Regions from separate parts of the Homo sapiens genome. Here region 1 is linked to region 2. Evidence: promoter capture Hi-C in 16 types of primary human blood cells and fetal thymus (Javierre and others, 2016). All regions are on one chromosome and are shown on one strand. The core of a region is centred on a gene start or on the middle of the fragment in contact, and the rest is flanking DNA. Distances in the headings are between cores, read along the strand shown. Region 1 has its middle 13 kb from the start of SGCA. Region 2 holds the start of PDK2-AS1 (PDK2 antisense RNA 1).

The links. Contacts are between HindIII fragments. The CHiCAGO score rates a contact against its expected background, and 5 or more counts as called.
Region 1: a contact is called between a fragment that was not itself captured here and the fragment with the promoter of PDK2-AS1 in region 2, in 1 of 17 cell types (endothelial precursors). The highest score is 5.7, in endothelial precursors.

What each region holds. Positions count from the first base shown.
Region 1 is chr17:50,176,347-50,181,950 of GRCh38, reverse strand. No RefSeq gene overlaps it. Among named protein-coding and RNA genes, the nearest start is that of SGCA, 13 kb to the right of the region's middle. RefSeq lists enhancers at 1-29, 489-783. The HindIII fragment of the contact is 3,208 bases long and covers 1,114-4,321 here.
Region 2 is chr17:50,099,945-50,104,853 of GRCh38, reverse strand. PDK2-AS1 (PDK2 antisense RNA 1) reads left to right here and starts at 2,458. Exons shown (of 2, transcript XR_007065842.1): 1 at 2,458-3,001; 2 at 3,789-4,909. The region is part of intron 2 of PDK2 (pyruvate dehydrogenase kinase 2); the gene reads right to left. RefSeq lists an enhancer at 3,241-3,850. The HindIII fragment of the contact is 6,546 bases long and covers 1-4,463 here.

The DNA of each region.
Region 1 (5,604 bases), core at 1,468-3,967, 77 kb before region 2:
ATGTTTCCATCCTGTTATTCTCTCCAGACTAGAGGCCAGGTGTTGCAATGCAGGGCTAGGCAGAGTCTGTGCTTAGGTACTGGGGAGACTAAAGAGAGAGAGACTGAGCTAGAGAGGCCACCCATTAGGTGAGAGCATGGCGCTGTGTGTGCTTGGTGCACAGGAGTGAGCGAGTGTGAGAGGAAGAGCAAGTGGAAGGCCCATGGGGGAGCAGACAGCAACGGAGGGCGCAGGGCAGGGCTTTCTGCAGCAACAGACATGTCCTAGAGCTGCACCGCCCAGTGCGGTAGCCGCTAACCACATGCAGCTGTTGAGCATGTGAGATGCAGTTAGTGTGACTGAGGAATGCAGTTTCCACTTTTACTGAATTGCAATTAGTTTTACTAACTATATGTGGGATAAGGGTTACCATACGGGGCAGCAGAGCTGTAGGCAAAGGAGTGAATATGCCTCTTGTCACCTCTGTACAAATCTACATGTGGGTACGTGGGTGTGTGTGCACACGCGTGGGCATGTATGTGGACACACGCACTGTGGGTCAGGGCTGCAGCGGGGGCAGCCTTGTGTGGCAGTGCCCCATGGGCAGCTCTGAGCCTGCATCACGTGGTGTGGGGCCGGTGTGTGGTTTCAGTGTGTACAGGACAGGAGGGGAGGGGGACAAAGGGGCCATTGTGCCACATTCCCAACTCAAACCCTCCTTTCCGCTGACATCACAGCCGCCCTAAATACAGCCACCCAGACCCGCTCCCCGAGACCCTCACTATCTCCTGCAGGGTGTCACAGAGCCTGCCGCTCTGTCAGACTCACCTTTGTCTTCTCTGTGAGAAGGACCAGGCTCCTGATTTTTGGCTGATTTTTCAGTCAAGCCCAGATGGAAAATTCTAGAAAGGGAGGAGGCTTCATTTGGATTTTTAATTTCTGCTGCAATCTCAGAATCCTGGGTCCCTTTTGGGACCTAAGCCCCATCTCCTGGCAGGATTTTCTATCACCGGAATACAGTAGATTTTCCCTCCTTTTTTTTTTTTTTCCCCAGCACCTTAACTCTCAGCTTCCCAGACTTTCTCCAATGACAGAGCTGGGTGGGTGGAGGAGGAGAGGGGTTGCAAGAAAGCTTGCCGGCTGGGGTGAGGAGACTGTGTGTGGAGCAGGCGTGAGCGTGGGCCGCGTGGGAAAGAATGCGAGGCTGCCGTCAAGCCCAGCGTCCACACGAGGAGGCCTGCGATGGCGTCTGAGGGAGCAAGGTGAGTGCCACCAAGGGGTCTCTGTCTCCTGGGGGTGCCTGGTGATGAGAATGTGTCTCACTGTCTGTGCCCACCTACCTGTGCACAAATAAATGTATCTGTGTTCACAGGGGCCTATACACATGTATGTGTGTGGGTTGGGGTGGGCGGGCATCTGTGCATGATGAGGGCAGCTTCCCCACACGTATGGCAGTGAAAGCAACCCTGTGTGAACTGTGAGAACACATGGACTGTGGCATTTGGGACATATGTGTACATGGGCATGACAGAGGGCATAGGAGGGTCTGTCTGTGTGATATGGATGAATGGGGCGGGGGAGCAGAGAGGAGTGTGGGAAAAATTAGTGGGGGCTCGGTGTGGGAGGAGACCACTCTCCTGAAGTCCCCCAGCCAGTGGGAGCCCTGGTGCTGGGAAGGCTGAGTCTCCCTGTCCCCTTCCCCTGTGTGCGCTCCAGAGGGTATCAAGTCAGGCCGAGGGCATGTCCACAGTCAGGGAGGCAAGATCCTGGAAGCAGGAGGGGTCTTGTCCAGGAGGGTGGCAGGCCCTCCCCATGCAGAGATTTCAACCCTTTGCAGAGGATGTGCAAGGCAAGGCCAGGAGGGAGGTGAGTTTGGCACATGCTAATGCTGGAGAAAGTGGGATTTTCTCTGCAAAAGACAGTGGGAGGAACTGGGAAGGGGGTACTGAATGAGAAGGGACAGAGAACCATGATGGGGACTAAAACATTTTAGAGAGGGAGGCCACATACACGTGCAAGTTCTGGATGAATTCACTGCTGTGGGGCAAACTCTGCCCGCAGGCCAGGGCTTCGCTGCTGAGTTCACGGAGGCCTAGGAGAGCAGGTGTTCTGTAGAAAGCAGGGAAAGGGGCTGAGTTCTGGGTGTGAGTTAATCTGGGATGGAGATACAGGAAGAGCCATGAAACCAGCACAGCCCAATAAAGATACAACCCAAGGTGCGGATGTAATTTTTTATGATCTAGCAGCCATTTAAAAAAAGATAAAAAGGGCTGGGGGCGGTGGCTCACGCCTCTAATCCCAGCACTTTGGGAGGCCGAGGCGGGCGTATTGCCTGAGGTCAGGAGTTTGTGACCAGTCTGGCCAACATGGTGAAATCCTGTCTCTACTAAAAATACAAAAAAAAAATTAGCTGGGCCTGGTGGTGTGCGCCTGTAGTCCCAGCTACTCGGGAGGCTGAGGCAGGGAAATTGCTTGAACCAGGGAGGTGGAGGTTGCAGTGAGCCAGGATAGCGCCACTGCACTCCAGCCTGGGCAATGGAGCAAGACTCCATCTGAAAAAAAAAAAAAAAAAAGATAAAAAGGCTGGTGCTGTAGTGCATGTCCTAGCTACTCGGGAGGCTGATGCAGGAGGATCCCTTGAGGCCAGGAGTTTGAGACCAGCCTGGGCAACACAGTGAGACCCTATCTCTACAAAAAAAATTGCAAAAATTAGCCAGATGTGGTGGTGAGTGCCTGTAATCCTAGCTACTTGGTGGCTGAGGCAGGAAGATCACTTGAGTTTGAGGTAACAGTAAGCTATGGTCATGCCACTGCACTCCAGCCTGGGCAACATAATGAGACCTCATCTCAAAAGAATAAATAAGTATCTACAGGTAAAACTAATTTTAGCAATGTCTTTTATTTAACCTAATGTATCCCCAAATCCGATCGTTTCACCATTACACTGAGGTACATCTCAGTTTGGACTAGCCACATCTTAAGTGCTCAGTAGCCACATGGCCTGAGGCTGCTGTACTGGATGGTGCAGCTCTAGGCAGCAGTTCCGTACCAAAGATCATACAAATTTAGGCTTCCACTCCCAATTCACAGGGAGAGATTGAACTTTTTACAAGGTGCAGGTGGAAATGGAGTTCATTTAGCCTGAATCTTAGGGGCCAGGGAGACCCCAGGGACCTCTGGCCTTGTGGGATTGTGTGTGCTTGCATGCAATAATGTGTCCATCCTTGGGAGCTGCCAGAGTGTCCAGTTCCCACAAATTCTCACAACAGCCCCAAGGCGGTTATGATGATCATCTTATGAGTAAACTAACCCTCAGCTGGCTGAGCCAGCTGTTGTGTGGCAGGATCATGATTCCAGTCCTGCTCCGGGGCAGCGTGCAGCAGGGGGCTGAGGCCGGCCCTAGGTGGCGACTTGAGTCACCAGGTCTGGCTGATAGAGAGGTGGTGAGGGAATGTCTGAGCGTCAGGCCACGTGTGGGTGCTGTGTTTAGAAGGAAGGTGGAGGCCACCCACTGGGTAACAGGGGCAATGCCATCATGGGACTGGAGGAGACAGGGGTGGAGCAGAGTGTGCAGCTGGGCCAAGTCTCCCGGTGGAGGTGGCGGTGGGGGCGGCTGCCCTTCTTTGTCCTGGGCTGTGGGGGGTGGAGCTTGACTGCTGGCTGGAATCTTGCACGCCAGGGAGGGGCTGTTGCCCAGTGGGGAGGCGCTAAGTATGTCTGTGCCCTCCCGGCATGCTGCCGGGGGCCTCTGGACGTGTGTGCCCAGGCAGGGCTCAGCGTCTTCTGCAGGCACGCCATCCTCCCAGCTACTTGTCTGGGCCGCTTCCTCTCAGGCCGGCAGCCAGGCTCCCGTGTGCTCTTTGGAGCTGAGCAGAGAGAAAGGCGCTGCCAAGACCCCAAGGCAAAGCCGGGAAGTGAGGAGCTGGCCTTGCACTCTCCCAGCCCTGGCCAGCACAGGAAGAGCACAGGAGGCCCAAGAGCTGCCTGGCTGCAGGGGGCGAGCCCAGAGATGAGGGGTGGGCAGCCTCCTCCTCAAGGGAGCAGGGATCAAGGAGCCACCCCAGGCAGCAGGCTGGCTGCTGGAGCCTCCGGTCTGCGCAACTCCTGGTTTCCTTCAGGAGAAAGAAAGAAATAGCCAAGGAGAAGCCAGAGGCACCCGCTAGTCAAAGAACCCGTTTGGTTATGGCGTGGGCACCTAAAGAGCTAGTCATTCAACAGGCAATTATTAAGCACGTACACTACACCTCAGCCTGCCTCAGCAGATGCTCACGAAACCAGTGTTTGATGAGTTGATTGACTAACTAATGGGTACAGGGAGGCTCAGGAGATAATGGAAGAAGCTTTAGCCATGGCCTTGCTCAACCCCTGTGCCCTGAGAAGGGGAGCAACCTCCTTAAGAACACTGAGCACAGGAACGGTAGCTCACAGCGGTCATCCCAGCTACTCAGGAGGCTGAGGCAAGAGGACCACTTGAGGCCAGGAGTTCGGGACCAGCGTGGGCAATGTAGTGAGACCCTGGCTCTAAAAGAAAGAACGCTGAGCAAACCCAGACACATGGTATCCCTTCATGCCTTCCTTCAGAACATCCTTCCTGAGCACTCACTGTGTGCAGGCACTGCACCTGCTGCAGGCTGAAAGAATCGTATGTTCTAGTGCGGAAGAGGACTCGGAATATGTGAGCCGAGACAGCGCGAATCCTCTCAGAGAGCAGGAAGGCCTCGCAGGGCAGGCAGTGGGACCGCAGTGGGACCACAGCGGGGACAGGGAAGGCCTCTCTGAGGAGGTGCCCTTTGGGCAAAGACAGAACCTGCAGTGAGGGGCTAGTTGTGTGGATGTGGGAGCCAGGGCCTCCCAGCAGAGGAAAAGGAGAAGGAGGCTGGAGTGGTGATGCCAGCCCTTGTCTGTGTTCTCTCGGAGTTGCCACTAGGGGAGGGCCTTGCCAGCTATCCCTCTTTTAGCCGGGCCCCTCTCGGGCTGAGTCCCTGGCCTGTCCTCACGTGGGAGTGGGAGTATATGAGCCTGGACATGGCCAGATGGCAGTGATCGGGGCAGAATCGGCCCCATTTGGTTGTGTCCACCTGGGAAAAACAAGCTCAGGCCTTCTCATGGCCAGCTGAGCTCTTCTGAGCTCGTGTGGGGTCAAGCTGTGCTAGCACCACTCAGTCCAACAAGGGTCCCAGGCTGTGCTGTGTCCTCTGCACCCCTGCCCATCTCTGGAGGAGCTCAGCAAGGCGGGGGGTAGTCCTTGAGCCTAGGGCATTCCGGGACCCGCATTCCAACCTCCCTCTTTCCATATCTTTTTTTTTTTTTTTTTTTTTTTGAGACAGAGTTTTGCTCTGTCACCCAGGCTGGAATGCAGTGGTGTGATCTCGGCTCACTGCAACTCCACCTCCTGGGTTCAAGTGATTCTCCTGCCTCAGCCTCCCGAGTAGCAGGGATTACAGGTACGTGCCACCATGCCTGGCTAATTTTTGTATTTTTAGTAGAGATGGGGTTTCACTATGTTGGCCAGGCTGGTCTCGAACTACTGACCTCAAGTGATCTGCCTGTTTTGGCCTCCCAAAGTGCTGGGATTACAGGTGTAAGCCACCACGCCCGGCCTCGCTCTCCATATCTAGATTGGCT
Region 2 (4,909 bases), core at 1,209-3,708:
GGGCCTCCCAGAGTGACCCCTGAGCTGGGGTGATCTGGGCCAGGCACCTGCCTCGGCAAGTGGATTCTAAAATGGCAGGTGGGAAGGACCCAAAGGTGGGGTGGGCGTGCCTGGCTCTGTCCCCAGGTGGGGCTGGGGCCCATGGAGAGTCCAGAGAAGCTCACTCTACTGCAAAAGGCCAGGTAGCAGTGGGTGATGCCCTGCCACCTCCTCCCATCTACAGGCCTGATGGGGAGGCCAGTTTTCCCTGGGCTAAGAGAAGAGCTTGATGCTCTAAAAGGAGCATCAAGAATCCCTGAACTTAGCCAGGTGTGGTGGCTCACACCTGTAATCCCAGCACTCTGGGAGGCTGAGGTGGGCGAATCACCTGAGGTCAGGAGTTCAAGACCAGCCTGGCCAACATGGCAAAAACCTGTCTCTACTAAACATGCAAAAATTAGCTGGGCATGGTGGTGCACGCCTGTAATCCCAGCTACTCGGGAGGCTGAGGTAGGAGAATCGCTTGAACCTGGGAGGCAATGGTTGCAGTGAGCCGAGATCGCTCTATTGCACTCCAGCCTGGGTGACAGAGCAAGACTCTGTCCCCCCAAAAAATAAGCCCTGAACTCAGGGACAGCAGCAGGCCTCCTTCTGCAAGGGAGTCAGGTCCACCTGTGGTGGCAGATGGTACCAAGCTGGAGCCACTGTGCCCCGTGCCCTGGGGAGCCATGACCTGTTTCCCTGCTAACATGTCCAGTCTGTGGCTTGTTCCTTTGGGGAAGGCAGGAAGAGCCTCTCTCTGGCAGAAACACTTATAACCAGGAGGAAGGGGGGGCGCTACCTAGAGCCCTGCAGTGCCAAGGGCCCCAGGGGCCCAACAGTATTTCTAGAAAAGGCCCCTCCACACGAGGACTCATTCCCATGTCCACAGTGCTCTGGCCTTCACTGTAACCTGTAACAGGCAGACAGGCAGGAATCAGCCCCACGCACAGCCTCCCCCAGGGAGGCGTAAGCAGCCCCATAGCTAGTAAGTGGGATGATGAAGCCCCCGAGTCTCCAGCGCTCTTGCCACTCCAGAGTGCTGATTCTGCTCGACTCTCACCTCCACGCTTCTGTTCACACAGTGCCCTCTGCTAGGAATGCCCTTCCCCTTAAACCTAGTATTGCTGCTCTTCTCGCTCTTGCCTGACAGAGAAGAGAGTGAAAGAACCAGCTCTGGACCCAGACCTGGCTCTTTAAGCACTTGGAGCTGTGTGGCTCTGGGTAAGTCATGGAACCTCTCTGGGCCTGAGTTTGCTCATTAGGAAAATGGGGATTGTTATATCTATTTATGACTGCTTTGTGGTGAGAATTCCATGTGATGATTAGCACAGTGCCTAGCACATAGTGAGCACTCTCTAATGCTTGCTCTTATTATGGCTGGTGGCTCAAACACTGTCAACAGCTGCATGCATCCTCTGAGCCCCCAGGCAGCATCTGATACTCTCCCACTGCTTGTAGGCTCTGAATCACAGCATGTTGGAGCCCCTGTGCCCTGGAGACCTGCCCCACTGCCACACGAAGGGGGCTGTCTCAGGCCCAGAGCTCACCGCCCACCCCTCCCTACCCAGAGCTCTGCACAGAGCCCGATAGGAGGAGCTGTGGCTGCTGATGGGGCTGGGGGCCCCAACAGCAGAAAAGATCAGCCTTTCTCTCAGCCCCCATCACCATCCCTGCCACCCCAGCAGACAATCAGGCTGGCACTCCTAAGACCTCACCTGTCTCCCTGGAGAAGAACATAGCGACCACTAACACCCACTTGTGCCGAGTCCCACACAGGGTCTCTCATCTGCCAACAGCCTTGATGAGCACAAGGTATTTCCCTGTTTTTGCAGACAACGAGACCAGCACTGAGAGGTTAGTGATATGCCCCAGGCCACATAGTAAGCAGCAGGTTGGGATTCAAACCTAGCTCTTGCAGACTCCAAGTCTACACCACGTGGCCAACGGCCAACACGGGCCCTGACGGTGATGCCGCTGCTGATGGTGATGGTGGCATTTACTGGGTACCAATAGCCAGGTCCACCCTGTGCTTCCCTCCTGCCCCACTTTCACCTCCACAAGAACCCCAGAGGTGGGCGCTACTGCTGGACCCATTTTACAGATGAGGAAGTTAACACACAGAGCTGAGATTCTCTCATCCAGGCCTATGTGGCTCCGAATCCCTTGCTCCCTAAACGCACCCAAAATAGACCTTCATGCTCATATGATTCTTAGGGGAGAGAGGGCCCGCACACAGGCAGTGCTAGGGGCAGGTGGGGAGAGGAGGGGGAGGAGACCCACTGCAGAGTGGGGCCTGAGGCCCCTTCCCAGGAGGCAGGTGGGGATGAAGCGGGTGGGAGCTGGGAGGCTAAGCCACTTCCTGACTGTGCTGGGCAGTGGGTGGGGGTGGGCATGGTCAAAGTCCCAGTCTCACTTAGGGAGAGTGCCCCAGCTGCTGGCACCACCCCTTTTGTGGCTGCTCAACAACCCTAGAGGGCAGGAATGGGGCCTGGTCACGTGGCCACTGAAGTGGAGCAAAGGGCACCGGCATGGAGTGACAGCGGGCAGCGCCTGCCAGCCTCCCTCACAGGGCCAGGGCTCCTCCAGGGCAAGGGGCCCAGGCTACTCTTGGAATGGAGGGGAGAGGATGAGGATTTTCCCCGAGGTCCCTGGCCTTGCCCTGAAGCCCCTCAGGGGCCTGGTGCACCAAATGTCAACCTTGGGCCGGTTCTTGATCCTAAGAAGGGAGATTGGGGACGAGTGGCGCTGGCCTCTGGGCTGCCCACCCCTTGCAGGCCAGAGAGAGAACTGGGCTTATATAAGGGAGGCCTGAAGCAGTGGTGCAGTGACAGACAGGCACCAACAGGCGGGAGAGGCATTGCCCCCACCCCTCCCCAGGACCTGCAGGGAGGCTGGGGTCTCTGGGCCTGCTGACCTCTGCAGTAATCAAGGCCCCCAGGAGTCCCTTGGTGAGATCCGGAGCTCCCAAGCCCAGCCCAAGGTAATGTGGAGATCCACCCAAACCCTGCTTTCCAGGGCTCCAGAGCCAGTCCAGAGCCCCAGGAATGAGAAGGAGGAGGGGTGGATGCAGGCAGAAGCCAGGAGGCTTGCTGAGAGTGTGGGGCTGATAATGGGCGGTGGGGGCGGGAGGAGAGGGTGAGTGAGTGGGAGGAGGGCCCTGCAGCCCTGTGTGGGAGCAGAGGGGGTGCTGAGCCAGCGGGGGAGTGTGTGTAATTGTGTGCATGTGGCATGTGCATGCCTGTGGGTGTGTGCGAGGGTGTGCCCTGTGCACTCGTATCCACAGCTGCTGGGGAGCAGGGTGTAAACAAGGCAAAGGCTGGGGAGGAGGGTGCTCGCTGCACTTGGGGGAGAGGTGGCGGTGTCCCGCCTCCGGAGCCTCTGAGCCAGGCAGGTTTGGGTTCCGCTGCTGATTGTGCCCTAAAGAGGCCACCGAGTCCCTCGGGTCCCCATTTGCAAAATGGGGTTCATGGGAGTAAGCACCTCATGGGCCTGGGTGTACAGAAAAGATGATGCCTCGAGTACATGCGCAGTAAGTGGTCGGTCCTGCTCGGTCATGCAAGGAGCGGCTGACGGGTTTGGAGAGCTCGTGTGGCTTTAGCAGGTCCTGGGCACCCAAGCCACACCCCCTGTATGGGGTCCACACACCTTGCTGACGGGCAAGGGAGGTTTGTGCGAAGGTGCCGGCCATATCGCCTCCCACCTACAGCCCCCACAAAGAGCCTGTTAGTGACAGCAGTGAGTCATTGTCATTTGATTCTACTCTGCAGCTCCTGCTTAACCCTGCATTTTCTGGAAGCACATCCCCACAGACTCCACGCCTGGAGAGGAGCCGGGGTTGTCCCTTTCCGTCTCTAACAACACCGGCTGTCAACAATTTTGTAAAGTGAGTTCTGCTCTCCCACAGACTTGCACCATGAACTTGGAAATCTCTGACTCCACATCACTGCCCAGAGTGCAGGCTCCCTCCTTTCCCTTCAAGAATCCAGTCTCCAAATCCAACAGCTGGGTTCGAATCCCAATTCCACCACCTAGTCCCTGGGTGATCTCAGATAAGGTTCTTCACCTCTCTGAACCTCAGTTTCTCATCTAGAAAATGGGATGATAGCAAAGACTACCTCATAAGGTTGCGAAGATGAAATGAGTTAATACGCGTAGACACTTAGGACAGCTCCTGGGACACAGCCAGCCTTTGGAGGTGTTTGCTTTTGTTATTATCATGATTTATTACTACCTTGCCCAAGAAGCCACACCACAATTACATCCTCTGTGGGCTGGAGGTGTTGCTGCCCGGCAGCCTGGGGATATGCCTTGTATTGGTAGAGTTCTGCACACTTTTCACATCTAGCACTGGCCTTTGGCCCTTACAAACACAATGGGTCCCCCTTTTACACATGAGGAAGCTGAGGCTCAGAGATGCCATGTGGCTTGCCCAGGATGAAGCTTCAAAGTCACACATGCTGAGGCCAAACCTGGGACTTTCCCTCCCCGTCCAGTCTCCACCAAAACAGGGCCCACTATCACAAGTCTGTCCAGTTGAAATGTATCAGGTTTATTTAGAACCAGGAATTCTCACCTTGCCCAGTGACTCTGCCTAGAACCTCTCCCCAGCTGAGTAGAAACTCCATTTCTATGACCACAGATGAACCATGACCACTAATAACTGCATCTGCCGAGGGCTCTTGTGTTTTCCAGAAAGGAGGGTTTGCTTCTTACTCATCAAACTCAGGCTAGAGGCCCTCTTGCCAAGCTCCCTGGTAAAGTCTCCCCCCTCCTCTCAGGCACCTAGAACCTGCCCATCTCCATCATTCCAGCTGGCAGGCTGTTGCTCCTGGAGAAAGAGGTCTCCACTCTCTTACAGGCAGCCACCTCAACCCTGTCGGGAAGTCCT